2 separate regions of the Homo sapiens genome follow, and region 2 is linked to region 1. Evidence: promoter capture Hi-C in 16 types of primary human blood cells and fetal thymus (Javierre and others, 2016). All regions are on one chromosome and are shown on one strand. The core of a region is centred on a gene start or on the middle of the fragment in contact, and the rest is flanking DNA. Distances in the headings are between cores, read along the strand shown.

What was found. The method cuts DNA at HindIII sites, captures the fragments that hold promoters and counts their contacts. A CHiCAGO score of 5 or more calls a contact.
Region 2: a fragment that was not itself captured here is called in contact with the fragment with the promoter of FXYD3 in region 1 in 7 of 17 cell types (total B cells, naive CD8 T cells, naive B cells and 4 more); the score reaches 9.6 in total B cells.

Annotation. Positions count from the first base shown.
Region 1 is chr19:35,111,215-35,117,550 of GRCh38, reverse strand. It overlaps FXYD3 (FXYD domain containing ion transport regulator 3), which reads right to left and starts at 1,728. Exons shown (of 9, transcript NM_005971.4): 1 at 1,592-1,728; 2 at 1,192-1,287. LOC124904701 (hepatitis A virus cellular receptor 1-like) reads right to left here. Exons shown (of 3, transcript XR_007067238.1): 3 at 3,882-4,204. The HindIII fragment of the contact is 1,620 bases long and covers 1,101-2,720 here.
Region 2 is chr19:35,331,176-35,337,791 of GRCh38, reverse strand. CD22 (CD22 molecule) reads right to left here. Exons shown (of 14, transcript NM_001771.4): 2 at 5,718-5,773; 3 at 4,868-5,245; 4 at 1,451-1,756; 5 at 1-37. The coding sequence starts at 5,751. Among named protein-coding and RNA genes, the nearest start is that of CD22, 5.3 kb to the right of the region's middle. RefSeq lists enhancers at 190-289, 330-479 and a silencer at 4,278-4,487. The HindIII fragment of the contact is 4,678 bases long and covers 440-5,117 here.

The DNA of each region.
Region 1 (6,336 bases), core at 479-2,978:
ATTGAGTGTCTACCCCATGGGGGCATTTTCTCAGCTTCCCACTTACTCGCTCAATCTCTGCAGCTTAATGCAGGGGGCACTATTATTAGCCCACATTGCAGTTGTAATCCTGTAACCCCTGCAAATTCATCTTAAAGCCCTATGCTCTGTCGCCATGGCTGTTGAGTCTCACCTCTTAAGCCTCTTTCCAGGGGCTCCTCCAAGCCACCTCTGGCCTGCAAGGCCCCACTATACCCCCTTCCCATGATGTCATCCAGCCAAGACTGACAGATGGTATCCTCCTCGCCCCAGCCTCTGCAAAACAACGTCCAGTCCCATGCTTCCGGAGGCTGCAGGGAGCCGGGAGCTGGGTCTGCCCTCACGTTCCCCATTCAGGCTGTTGTCTGAAGAGGCTGTGGGCTGCTCCCGAACTGATGTGGTTGGTGAGCAGGTTAGAGAGGAAGGCAGCCCTGCAGCTGATGCTCTGTCTACCTGCTCTCATCCTTCCTGGCCATGAGGTCCCAAGGCCGGCCTGAGGACTGTTTCCCCCACCTGCCCTCTGCTATCCCCTCTATTCCTCCATACCATGGGAGAATGGTCTCATGTTCAGGGGTGGGTAGAAAGATCCTGCCCGCTGTGTGCTCCTGAAATCTCCCAAGCAACTCCCCATTTAAAGCTTCCCCCAGCAGCTCCATCCTTTTTTCCTGGAGGTCTCCAGAATCCAGATCCCTCAATGTCTGGACACCCCGAGTCCACCCAGCACTCCTTATCCACCCAGATCCCTCAATGTCTGGACACCCCGAGTCCACCCAGCATTCCTCATCCACCCAGATGTCCCCAGTCCATCTACGCACCCCTGGTCCACTTAGATACCCCTACCTACCCAGGCACCCCCTCTCCTCCACCCAGCTATCCCCAACCCAGATATCCCTAATCCATGCAGACACTAGTCTTTCAGACACCCCAACCACACTTATCAGTCCTGCCCTCACCTCAGCTGGTTCAACAAGTCCCTGAGAGGAGAATGGTGGGGAAAGGGACATTAGGGGAAGGGACTTCCGTTTATCTCCTGGCTCCAGAAAAGCATTTCACAAGATTTTAGGCGCTTTAACATAAAAGCTTCTATGGGGCAGGGTCAGGGGGCAGGTAGATACTTCCTAATTTAGGGGCAGAGACAAGGAGGGCTTGGAGGAAGGGGCCCCAGCTGCTCACCTGTGTGGTTCACCAGGCTGAGCAGAGGTTCCGGGAGAAATCGGGCTGCCAGGCGGAGTCCTGCGTTTATCCGAAGCTGCCACGCCCTAAGCAAACCTGGGCAGGTAGAAAACAAGTCAGATGCCCTGAGGCCCAGGGGCTCCATTCCTGCTCTTAAAGAGACAGCTTCACCCCCTCCCCAGCCATGGGCGGCAGGTTGCTCCCTGGGGTCACCAGGACCACAGCAGCCTCAGGTGAGACGGAGAATTGGATGGGCTGGAACTCGGCCCCTGGAATTAAGGGAGGAGCTTTCTCCAATCTCCTGTGCCCAGGAGAGGACCTTGAATGGGGAAGGTTCTGGGGTCTTTAAACGGCAGAGCCTCCAGGGCCATGCAGTGAGATGATGCGTTGGTGTTCCGACCTCACTTCTTTTCCTTAGATGATGTGTTTTGCCTGGTGGAAGGATTGCTGGCAGTTGTGGAGAACTTAAAGTCCCCTTCCAGGCCACATCTTGCCGCTGGTACAATTTCAGGATCAGCAGAAGATGCTAGCGTGACCAAAGTCAGGAGATGGGGCAGGGGTGGATATGAGGGAGCGGCTGGAACAGCAGGGAGGGGTCAGGGTGGGGACTCTGGGACCTTAGTCCTGGTCATAACCTGCTCCCTGCCCTGGGGAGAATGAGAACTGTCTGCCAGGCACCAGGCTGCAGTTTCCTAGCCAGGCTCTTTCCGTGGGTGCTGGGAGCCAGACGCCTGGGTCTACAGAGTGGGTGCTGGTGGGGGCGGCTGCCTCCTAGTCCACATAAGGCCCCCAGCACTGTACAAGCCTCCCTCCCCCTTTCCTCCCCTGTCTCCTGCTCCTCCTCCTCCAGGCATTCCTTCCGGATGGGGTCTGTGCAGGCTCCCCCATGGTCCCAGTTGGGGGTGCCCCCTCCCCTCAATTCCGCCTTCTTAGACAGAGGGACTTTTGTCTGGGGGCTGGATGGAGAACAAGGATCCTTTGAGCGGTTGGCGGAGGATTGGGGTCACGGGGAGGGGTAGGGCCAGGAAAGGGGTAGCTCTGCCCTGGACACCAGCTGGACTCCAGGCGACCCCAACACCACCGTGGGGGCGGGGAGGAGGGCTGCAGGGCCTGGCCAGGGAGAAGCAGCTGCTGGGAGTGTGGAGCACAGGACAGGAAAAGGGGGTTTGGGTCAAGGCTCTTCCGGAAACTGGCCTGCTGGGGGCAGAGAGAAGGACCCCCCACTTGTCATCGCTGAGGGATCGGGGAGGGCAATGTTCGCCCAGCGCTACACCCCTTCTCTATGTGGTTCCCTGGGGCAAGTTGTCAAGCCCAGGTCCTAGACAAGGGTAAGGCTCCCTCCTACCACTCTTAAGGCGGGGCCAGTTCCCATAAGGAAGCCGGGCGGGGGGACCTCGGGGTAGGGCTCTAAGCAACAGGTCCAGGAGGAGATAGAAACAGGAAGGGGAGGCCCGGAGGCCAACTCAGTATAGCTAAGGGGGGTCTTTGTGTCTGGGCGGATAGCGTCTCTTCCCTAGACCCTTGAAGCTTGTGTCTGGGACGACCCCTTGGTGGTCTTGGGAGTGGAATGGTGTCTCCCTCTGCTGGGAAGCCTGGGAACTGCAGGCATCCGAGAGCGAGTAGGGGCGTGTACAGGGTGGCTGGGAAGGGCGGGGGGTGCTCTGCCCTTCACCGGAACGGGGTGAACTGGAGAACTGTTGTCTAAAAATCTTGGAGGAACACCCCTGCCCGTGGTTAGATACAGAAGTATTTCCCAGACAGCTTGCTAAGGGGAAAAAAAACAAGGTATTGGGAAACCGTGCAGTGTGCTACCATTTGTGAGCGGTAAAATAATGCATATGTATATACTTGTAATGAATAAAATATTTTTGGAGATTGGCATCCATACCCATGGCTTCTGGAGAGGGAAACTGGGAGGCTGGAGGGTGGGGTGGAAGTGAGACTCACTCATTATCACGTGCCCTCTTATATTTTTTGAATTTTGCATCTTGAAAATGTACTACCTTAAAGGGGTTTAATTTAAAAAATTTGGTTCAGATTTAAAAAAAAATTTGCAGGTCAAAATTTCAACCTAAGGGCTGGTTTCAACCTGGGGGACCAGCAATTAGAGACTTCTGACAACCTCTGAATGTTCTGTAGTTTTAAACACCATGATCTTACATTCTGAGGTACAGACGTTTACGGTTTTTACCCAATCCAGGTCAACCATAAATTCTTCCTAGGCTGGACGTGAACATGCTGCGTCCAAGTGTGTGTTGGGCTGGCGCTGGGGCTTGGGTTTATGGTCAGAAGGACTCTGAGACCCTAGTGTGATGAGCACACTGAGTCTTAGGAAGGGCTGTGAGGAGTAGAGTTTGTGCAGTCACTTGCACCCTATTGGGGATTAGGTCTCATTTGGAGTGAGTCTTCTGGGCCAATCTGACTTCAGTTATGTTTTAAATGCATGTAGGTAATATGTTTTATTAATATATTGTATATAATATACATAATAAACATATTTGAAAAAGTTTCTCTCGTTTTGCTTTTGGAATCATTTGGGCCCAAAGAACCTGTTAAGGCTGTGAGTGGCTGTGATTTCTCCATATCCTGGGAATTCTTGCAAAATGAAAAAAACCAAACCTACAGATAGTTTCTGACATCATAAGTTTTTCAGGAACGCTGAATTAAAGCACAGAATCAAAGCCAGAGCATGTTATACCATCCCTGATTCAAACTTTTATTGATTTTGTTTCAATAATTTCGTTGCTCTTTATTCAAGGCTGGGAGCGTTTCTGCAGGCTCCTGGCCCTAGAGAGGGCAGCCTGGAGGCACCCCCAGCCATGAGAGGGGTGCTGGTTGGGTGGGGCCTTGCCTTTGCAGGTAGAGCCTGAGCGGCCAGGCTGACCGGCTGGGAGGTGTGGTCACAGCGATACGCCAAGGTCCCACTTCCTGGGCAAGATGGGGCTAGAGAGGCCGGTGGACAGGGTAATGTGGCTTCCTGGGGCTTTGTGGAACAGCGCTGTGGTCTCAGCACCTGTGGGAGAAGAGTGGGCACTGGCAGGTAACCCTGTCCCACCACCATGGGGATGGTGTGGCTGTGGACGTATCACTGTCCGCCTGGCTTCCAGGAGCCATGTGAGGTGACACAGTGGCCAAGAGTCCACAGGCTCCCTGACACCTGCCTCTGTGCTGCTCTGACGTCATCACTCACCCACAGAAGCTAGAAATGGAGATTTTTATGATGAAATCTCCTGTTTTGTTTTGTTTTTTTTTTGAGATGGAATTTTGCTCTTGTCGCCCAGGCTGAAGTGCAGTGGCACGATCTCAGCTCACTGCAACCTCTGCCTTCCAGGTTCAAGCAATTCTCGTGCCTCAGCCTCTCGAGTAGGTGGGATTACAGGTGTGTGCCACCACGCCCGGCTAATTTTTGTATATTTAGTACAGACGGGGTTTCACCGTGCTGGCCAGGCTGGTTTCCAACTCCTGACCTCAAGTGATCCGCCTGCCTCAGCCTCCCAAAATGCTGGGATTACAGGCATGAGCCACCGAGCCCGGCCTTCCGGATTTTTTTTTTTTAAGGTGAGTTCTTGCTCTGTTGCCCAAGCTGGAGTGTAGTGGTCCAATCATGGCTCACTGCAGCCTCCAACTCCTGGGCTTAAGTGATTCTCCCACCTCAGCCTCCCCTGTAGCTGGGACTACAAATGCACGTCACCACACCTGGCTAATTTTTTAATTTTTTTAGAGACGGGGGTCTCGCTATGTTGCCCAACCTGGTCTTGAACTCTGGGTCTCAAGTGATCCTCCCACCTTGGCTTCCCGAAGCGCAGGGATTATAGGTGCAAGCCACTGCACCCGGCCCTGATTTTTAAATGTTGGTAACTTCGTTTTCTTAACACTTTGTAGACAGAATGAAAAATATCCAGTGGTTGGATAAGGCCCTGGGGCCACCGGTTGGAGACCCCCATCTTACAGACTAGGGAAACTCAGGGGAGGTTCAGGGTTCCCCCTAACCCCTGTTGTCACTCACTCTGCTCCGGCCACCTGGGCCTCCTTGCCGTTCCTGGATCACTCCAGGCATGTTTCTGGCCAAGAGCCCTTGCAATGCCTATTCCCTTGCCTGGCTCTCTTTTCTCCCGCATCTGGACAGCTCAAAGCCATGAGGTTCAAGTGGCTTTCCCCGACCACCATCGCACCTACCCCCTGACCTCTCTATGACCTTTTGACTTCTGTTTGCTTTTTTTTTTTTTTTTTTGTGGTGCTATCTGCCTCCCCTGCTAGCACGTCAGCTCCTCTCAGGGATTTTCATCTGAATTATAGAACAGGGCCTGGTGCATAGTGGGTGGTCACGAAGTATCTGTTAATTACCAGGCTGGGCACCATGGCTCACGCCTGTAATCCCAGCACTCTGGGGGGCCGAGGCTGGAGGATCCTTTGAGTCCAGGAGTTCAAGACCAGCCTGGGCAATATAGAGAGATCTTGTCTCTACAAAAATAAAAATAAAAGTAGGTTTAAAACAATTATAAAAGAAAGGCTTTCTCCACCGCCACCCCCCATCCACGGAGGCCTTGCAGGAGGAGCTGAGGTGGGGGTGCTGAGGGTGGAGCTGCTGATGGGGGCAGGGGGTGTGGAGGAATGAATGTCTTGGCCAGCTTCCCCATCATGTGGGGAGTGGGGGCGGCGTGGTGGGGGTGGGGAGGGCTTGGGCAGATGGCTGGGGGTCCTGGGTGCGGGCAGGAACTACAGGGAAGCAGGAAAGGGCAGGGAACACATTTGGAGCTAGACATCTGGGACAGGGACTTCTGGTTCAAGTGGGAGCCCTGCAGCCCGCCCCCCCCCCCCAGCCTGACTCAGTCCCTAAGAGAAGGATTGCAAACTGGCGGTCCCAGGGTGGAACCCAACTATTGTACCTTTAGTTTTTACAAAGCATTGCAAAAATTAATAATTGCAAACATTTAAACAGCAGGACAAGCTGTGTTTCCAGCATCTCTGGAAAAGTCTGGACTAAAAGACCCCCATTCCCACCTGGAAGCCATTGCTGAGGTGGCAGGTCTGTCTCCCTGGGGTGCCCCAGGCCCCAGCTCTGCCTGGTTTGATGGAGGGAGGGAGGGAGGGAAGGAGGGAGGGAGGGAGGGAGAGAAGGAGACGGGCGCTTGCGGTTGCTCCGGC
Region 2 (6,616 bases), core at 1,529-4,028, 220 kb before region 1:
TCACTGGGAGTGACCTTGATCTCCAACTTCGGGGTGTCTGGAGGAGCAGAGGGGCAGTCGGGGAGGGGGCGGGGAATCCTCAGAGGGTGGAGGGTGTGGAAAGTGCTTTTATTCTGACAAAGCCATGGCCTGCCAGTCCCTTCACCCAGGTGATGGTCACAGCCTCCTAACTCGGCTCTCAGCTTCCCCCTCCCACTTCCTCTACTTCTTGGTCTCCACCAGCAGCACGCAGGGTTCCTAACACCATCTACCAGACCTCGCCAATCCTGCTGGAAACCACGAGCGGGTTCTGTGCTTTGCATAGAATCCCAAACCCTCACCTCAGCCCTCGGGATCCAGAGTCCTGCTCCATCTCCTGCCTCCTGTCCTACCATGTGGCCCTCAGAGGCGGTGAACTTCAGCCTCTGAGGTCCTCCCACCCAGCTGCTGCCTCAAAGCTTTGAACCTGCCCTTCTCTTTCCCTGAAATCCTCCTCTCCCAAATATGTGCCGGCCTCAGCCACTCCCTCCGTTCCAGTCAGCTTAAGTGCTCACCTTCTTTTTTTTTCTTTTTTTGAGATGGAGTCTCACTCGTCACCCAGGTTGGAGTGCAGTGGTGCGATCTCAGCTCACTGCAAGCTCCGCCTCCTGGGTTCATGTCATTCTCCTGCCTTGGCCTCCCAAGTAGCTGGGACTACAGGCGCCTGCCATCATGCCTGGCTAATTTTTTGTATTTTTACTAGAGATGGGGTTTCACCATGTTAGCCAGGATGGTCTCGATCTCCTGACCTTGTGATCCCCCCGCCTCGGCCTTCCAAAGTGCTAGGATTACAGGCGTGAGCCACCGCACCCGGCCTAAGTGCTCACCTTCTTAGAGAGGTCTCTCTCCATCACTCCCCTCTCTCGGCCTTATTTTTTTCCTAACACACATATCACTACCTACAATAGTGTTGTATATTTCTTTGTTAACATTGCTTTGTTCCAGATTCTAATGTCTTGGCTCATGCTCTGTATTTCTTTGGTAATCCATTTGTTGTCTGTCTCTTTCACTGCAGCGCTGGCTCCGCGTGGGGCAAGAGTTTTGCTCACTGCTGCACCCTGCCCACCGCCCCATGCCCCCCATTGGCAGCCGTAATAAGGCCTGGTACCTAGTAGGTTCATGATACGTATTTATTGAATGAATGAGGCACAAGATAATGATGCGAAAAAAATCCCCACCAAGAGGGGAACAAAAAGACCTAACCAGATAATCCCCAATTCATGTCATGGCTTGAGGATGGACCATTTTATTCTGTTAGGCTAGAGCAAATCTTTTTCCCGAAACACCAGGGCTGACAAGGCGGCGTGACCAGGGCTGGAGGATGCCGCCGTCTGTGCAGGCTTCCCCCTGCCCTGGGTGCATGCCCCCTGCGGGGCTGGGGAGAAGGTGACACAGACCTTGCCCTTCCCACAGGCATGCCGGGGAGACTCACGCTTCACGTTCAGCTGCACCGTGTCATTGGAGAGGAACTTCCCATCTGCATCCTGAAGCTGGCAGGTCACAATCTTCCCATGGTGACTCCACTGTGGGGAGAACTTGAGCTCGCTCCGGGTGAAGACAGACTTGATGGTCAAGGAGGTCGAGGTGACAGCAGCCTGCCTCATTGGAACCCCCTCTAGGAGCCACTGCAATTGGATCGGATACCCATAGCAGGAGAAATTCAGCAAGCAGGTCAGAGTGACTTCCTGGGACTCTTGAATTTCTGGAGGGAGCTGGATATGAGGTGGAAAAGGCCTTTCTGCAAAAGAACAGAGCCCGTGCAGGAGCCTGGGGGACTGAGGACGTGAGCGTACACCTGGCTTTAGATGTCCTGTCCCAAATCACCCCTCAGGAACCCCTTGCCACTTCATTCCACCTCTCTCCAGTCCTGCTTTGTTTTTTTGTTGTTATTGTTGTTGTTGTTGTGTTGTTGTTTTTTTGAGATGGAGTTTCCCTCTGTCACCCAGGCTGGAGTGCAGTGGCGCGATCTTGGCTCGCTGTAACCTCTACCTCCCCAGTTCAAGTGATCCTCCTGCCTCAGCCTCCCGAGTAGCTGGGATTACAGGTGCCCACCACCACACCCAGCTAATTTTTCTGTATTTCTAGTAGAGACAGGGTTTCGCCATGTTGGCCAGGCTGGTCTTGAACTCCTGACCTCAAGTGATCCTCCCGCCTTGGCCTCCCAAAGTGCTGGGATTACAGGTGTAAGCCACCACACCCGGCCTCTTTTTTTCTTTAGAGACAGGGTCTTGCTTTGTCACCCAGGCTGGAGTGCAGTGGCGCAATCCTAGCTCACTGTAGCCTCAACCTCCTAGGCTCAAGCAATCCTCTCACCTCAGCCCCCTGAGTAACTGGGACTACAGGCATGTGCCACCACACCTAGCTAGTTTTTTAAACATTTTGTAGAGACAGGGTCTTGCCATGTTACCCAGGCTGGTCTCAAACTCCTGGGCTCAAACGATCCTCCGATCTCAGCCTCCCAAAGTGCTGGGGTTACAGGCGGGAACCACTGCACCCAACGCAGTCCTGCTTTTCTCCACTTTGAATCACTTTTGCTCACCCGAAATCCCCTCTGAAAGGCCTTGACCACACTAAGCCTCCTTGGGAACTGTGATCTACTTTTCTTTCATGCTCATTGCCGGATGTCTGCTTTCTGAATGATTGCAAAGTTCTATTCCCACCACCTCACCACCTCTTTTTTTTTTTTTTTTTTTTTTGAGACAGAGTCTCGCTCTGTCGCCCGGACTGGAGTGTAGTGGCGTGATCTCAGCTCACTGCAAGCTCCACCTTCCGGGTTCACGCCATTCTCCTGCCTCAGCCTCCTGAGTAGCTGGGACTACAGGCGCCTGCCACCACGCCTGGCTAACTTTTTGCATTTTTAGTAGAGACAGGGTTTCACTGTGTTAGTCAGGATGGTCTCGATCTCCTGACCTTGTGATCCGCCTGCCTCGGCCTCCCAAAGTTCTGGGATTACAGGCGTGAGCCACCGTGCCCGGCCTATTCCCACCACCTCTAAGTGAATTTTATCAGTTTAGTTCACGGACTTTTCAGCTTTGACAAACTTGTGTTACTTTCATGGCTTCCTTCAGTATTGCAGCCATCCACGCACCGCATTCCTTTAGTGGAGTGGGTCTGTGTGCACCCAGCCTCAGCTCTCCCCAAGGCTGGACCACCTCCTTCAGACAGCGGGGTCTGAAGTTGCATTGCTCACCCCAAATTTAAGGCTGCTCAGAACTGCCCATCCGGGAAACGGTGTGGAACGGAGTGACCACACTCCCTGTGGCAGGGGCCCCCCACACCTGTGTTTGATGGGTCAAAGCCACCCCTACATGTGCAGTGCTATAACTGAACCTATGTTATAAAAATTATAAGATGTTCGTTTTACTTCTTTTCTTTTCTCTTTGTCCTTTCCTTCCTCCATGCATGATTAGTTACATTTGGTCATTTCAGTAGCAGGTAACCATTAATTCACTCATAATTGTTTAACTTACATCCTGACTCCCTGGCAGCTGCCTGCAAGATAAATGAACTTGTCTCTCTTTCAAAGAACAATGATCCTTAGGTCACACAGACCTCCTTGATGACATCCAGAAATTTGATGAGCCGAGGGGCACAACAGCTTTGACGATCGGGAGGTCACCTCCTGCACACCTACTTTACTCATAAAAGCCCCCACTAACGCTCAAAGTCAGGTCAGATTTGAGAGTTTCTCTCTTCTGTCCCCTTGCTTTGGCTAAATTAAATAATCCTATCTCAGCTTCTAAGCACTGAGGTGTCAGTGTTTGGCTGACTACGCATCGGGAGCTCAAACCTGGCCTTTGGGGTTCAACAACAGTGTCATCTGACCTTGAAGAGCTCATGAGAACTTGCCATGAACATTAACATGCTGGGAGATTTCACTGGAAAATCTAGATTTCCATCGTCTCTTGAAAAATCAGAAGATCAGGCCGGGTGCGGTGACTCATGCCTGTAATCCTAATGCTTTGAGAGGTTGAAGCAGGAGGATTGCTTGAGGCCAGGAGTTCAAGACCAGCCTGGCAACATAGCAAGACCCATTTCTACAACAAATTAAAAAGTTAGCTGGGCATGGTGGCATGCACCTGTGATCCTAGCTACTTTGGAGGTGGGAGGATTGCTTGAACCCGGGAGATCAAGGCTGCAGTGAGCTGAGATCGCGCCACTGCACTCCAGCCTGGGTGATGACAGTGCGAGACCCTGTCTCATAAAAAGGGAAAGGAAGGGGAAGGGGAAAAGAAGAGGAAAAAAAGTAAAACAAACATTTTATGATTTTTATAACACAGGCTCAGTTATGGCACTGCACATGTAGGGGTGGATTTGACCCATCAAACACAGGTCTGGGGCCTCTGCCCTAGGGAGTGTGGTTACTCCGTTCCACACCCAGTTTCCTCTATAGGGAGCTCTGAGCAGCCCTAAGTTTGGGGTGAGCGATGCAGCTTCAGACCCCAATGTCTGAAGGGGGCGGTCCAGCCTGGGGGAGAGCTGAGGCTGGTTACATGCAGACCCACCCCACTAAAGGAATGCGGTGCTTGGATGGTTCCAGTACTAAGGCCAAACACGAGTTTGTCACAAAAGCTGAAAAATACATGGTGAGAAAGAAAGAGGGAAAGATCAGGAGATCCGATAACTTTGGAATCCAGGTCCCAGAGGGGCAGGAACTGAGGGTCAGATGGGACATCCGAGGTCCCGCAGCTCTGTCTAGTGCTGCTGCATCGCCATCGTCATCCGCTGGCGTCCCCTGCCTGAGCTCTGCAGGAAGCTCGGTTTGTGAGCTCTGTGCCAGGAGTCAGGTATTTCCTGCCTCCCACTCACCCCTGCCCAGAGCAGAGGACCCGCTCCCCGAAGGCCTTACCAGAGACATTGAGGTGTATTCGTTCCATCCATTTCTCAGTCTTGGACTCCATCCTCAGCCCCAGCTGACCACTGTCATTGAGGTGCACCGGGTGGATACTCAGTGTGCAGTTCTTATTCTTGTCTCCCAGGAATTGCACCCTTTTCTGCTCAGAAGGAACCTTCCCATCCTTTGTGCTTTCATAGAGTCTTGTCCCATCAAACTTCGAGGTGTTCTTGTTATACTCAGGATTGTGGAACAGGATGAAGCTTTCCAGGTCACCATCTAGGGCTCTGTAGGTGCAGGGGATCCAGACGCAGGCCCCCTCCCAGGCGTAGAGGGTTTCAGGGTGCTCAAAAACCCATTTACTTGAGTCAGAGAAAGCCAAGTATTCTAGAACTCACCACAGTGATCAGAAAGCATTACTAAGGGGGCATGAGAGCCTTCTTTTAAAAGTTATTTTTTATTTTAAAATTTGTTTAATTTTTTATTCTTTTTAGAGATAGGGGTCTTGCTATGTTGTCCAAGCTGGCCTTGAACTCCTGACCTCAAGTGATCCTCCCACCTCAGCCTCACAAAGTGCTGAGATTTCAGGCATGAGCCACTGCACCCAGCAGAGAGCTTTCTAAAGACTAAAGAATTCCCTCTGAAGATAGTGGGAGAAATACAGAGATACACAAAGACAGCAGGATGCAATGAGAGAAGTGTATGTATATATGGGAAACATATATATTTGTATGTACATTTATCTATACACACCGCTGCCCCCACCCTACCCTATGTTGACGCCTCTCTGCCTGGGTCTTTCCTCCTCCTCCAGTGCCCACTGACATCCCAGAACCCCAGTACTAGCCCAGGCCACAGTCCTTACCCAGGAGCAGGAGCCAGGGGCCGAGGAGATGCATGGTGTCGTGTCTGGGTGCAAGCCTGAGCAGGGGAGAGTTTGTCTTTGAGCCATCTGGCCGCTTACTTCTTCCACGTGGCTTTTCTTGCTCACCCACTGAGCTCCGACCCTTCCCCTGGATCCGGGAGGACCGGGTCTGGTTGCATTATGGGGATGTGGCATTTGGGATGCTCACGGAGTTCTTTCTTTTTTTTTGAGACAGAGTCTTGCTCTGTCTCCCAGGCTAGAGTGCAGTGGTGTGATCTCCGCTCACTGCAACCTCTGCTTCCCAGGCTCAAGCGTTTCTCTGGCCTCAGCCCCCCAAGTAGCTGGGTAAAGGCAGGTGCCACCACGCCTGGCTGATTTTTGTATTTTCAGTAGAGATGGGGTTTCACCATGTTGGCCTGGCTGGTCTTGAACTCCTGATCTCAGGTGATCTGCCAGCCTTGGCCTCCCAAAGTGCTGGCACTACAGGTGTGAGCCACCACTCCTGGCCGGGAGTTTTTTCTGAGTGTGCTGCACCTCTCCTTCAAACTGAGAGCCCTGCGGGGGCAGCCTCTCTCTCTTCCCAGAACTCCTTCCTTTCTTCCTTCCTTCCTCCCTTGCTTGCTTTTTCCCATCCATCCATTCATCCATCTCTAATTTTATAAACTTCCTGCCTGGCTCACAGGCTTTGAGTGGCACCAGACCACTGAGTGCTTTGAATGCCAGGCCCCGGGTAACGTGGAGCTCTCTCTGGTGCTACTCATCAAGGATTATACTCAGGGACAGACATGGTCAAAACTTGGTTTGAAAGACCAGGTAAAAAGGAATTCTAAAACCAGTAACAAAGTATGGGTGAGCCAGGCGCAGTGGCTCACACCTGTAATCCCAATACTTTGGGATGC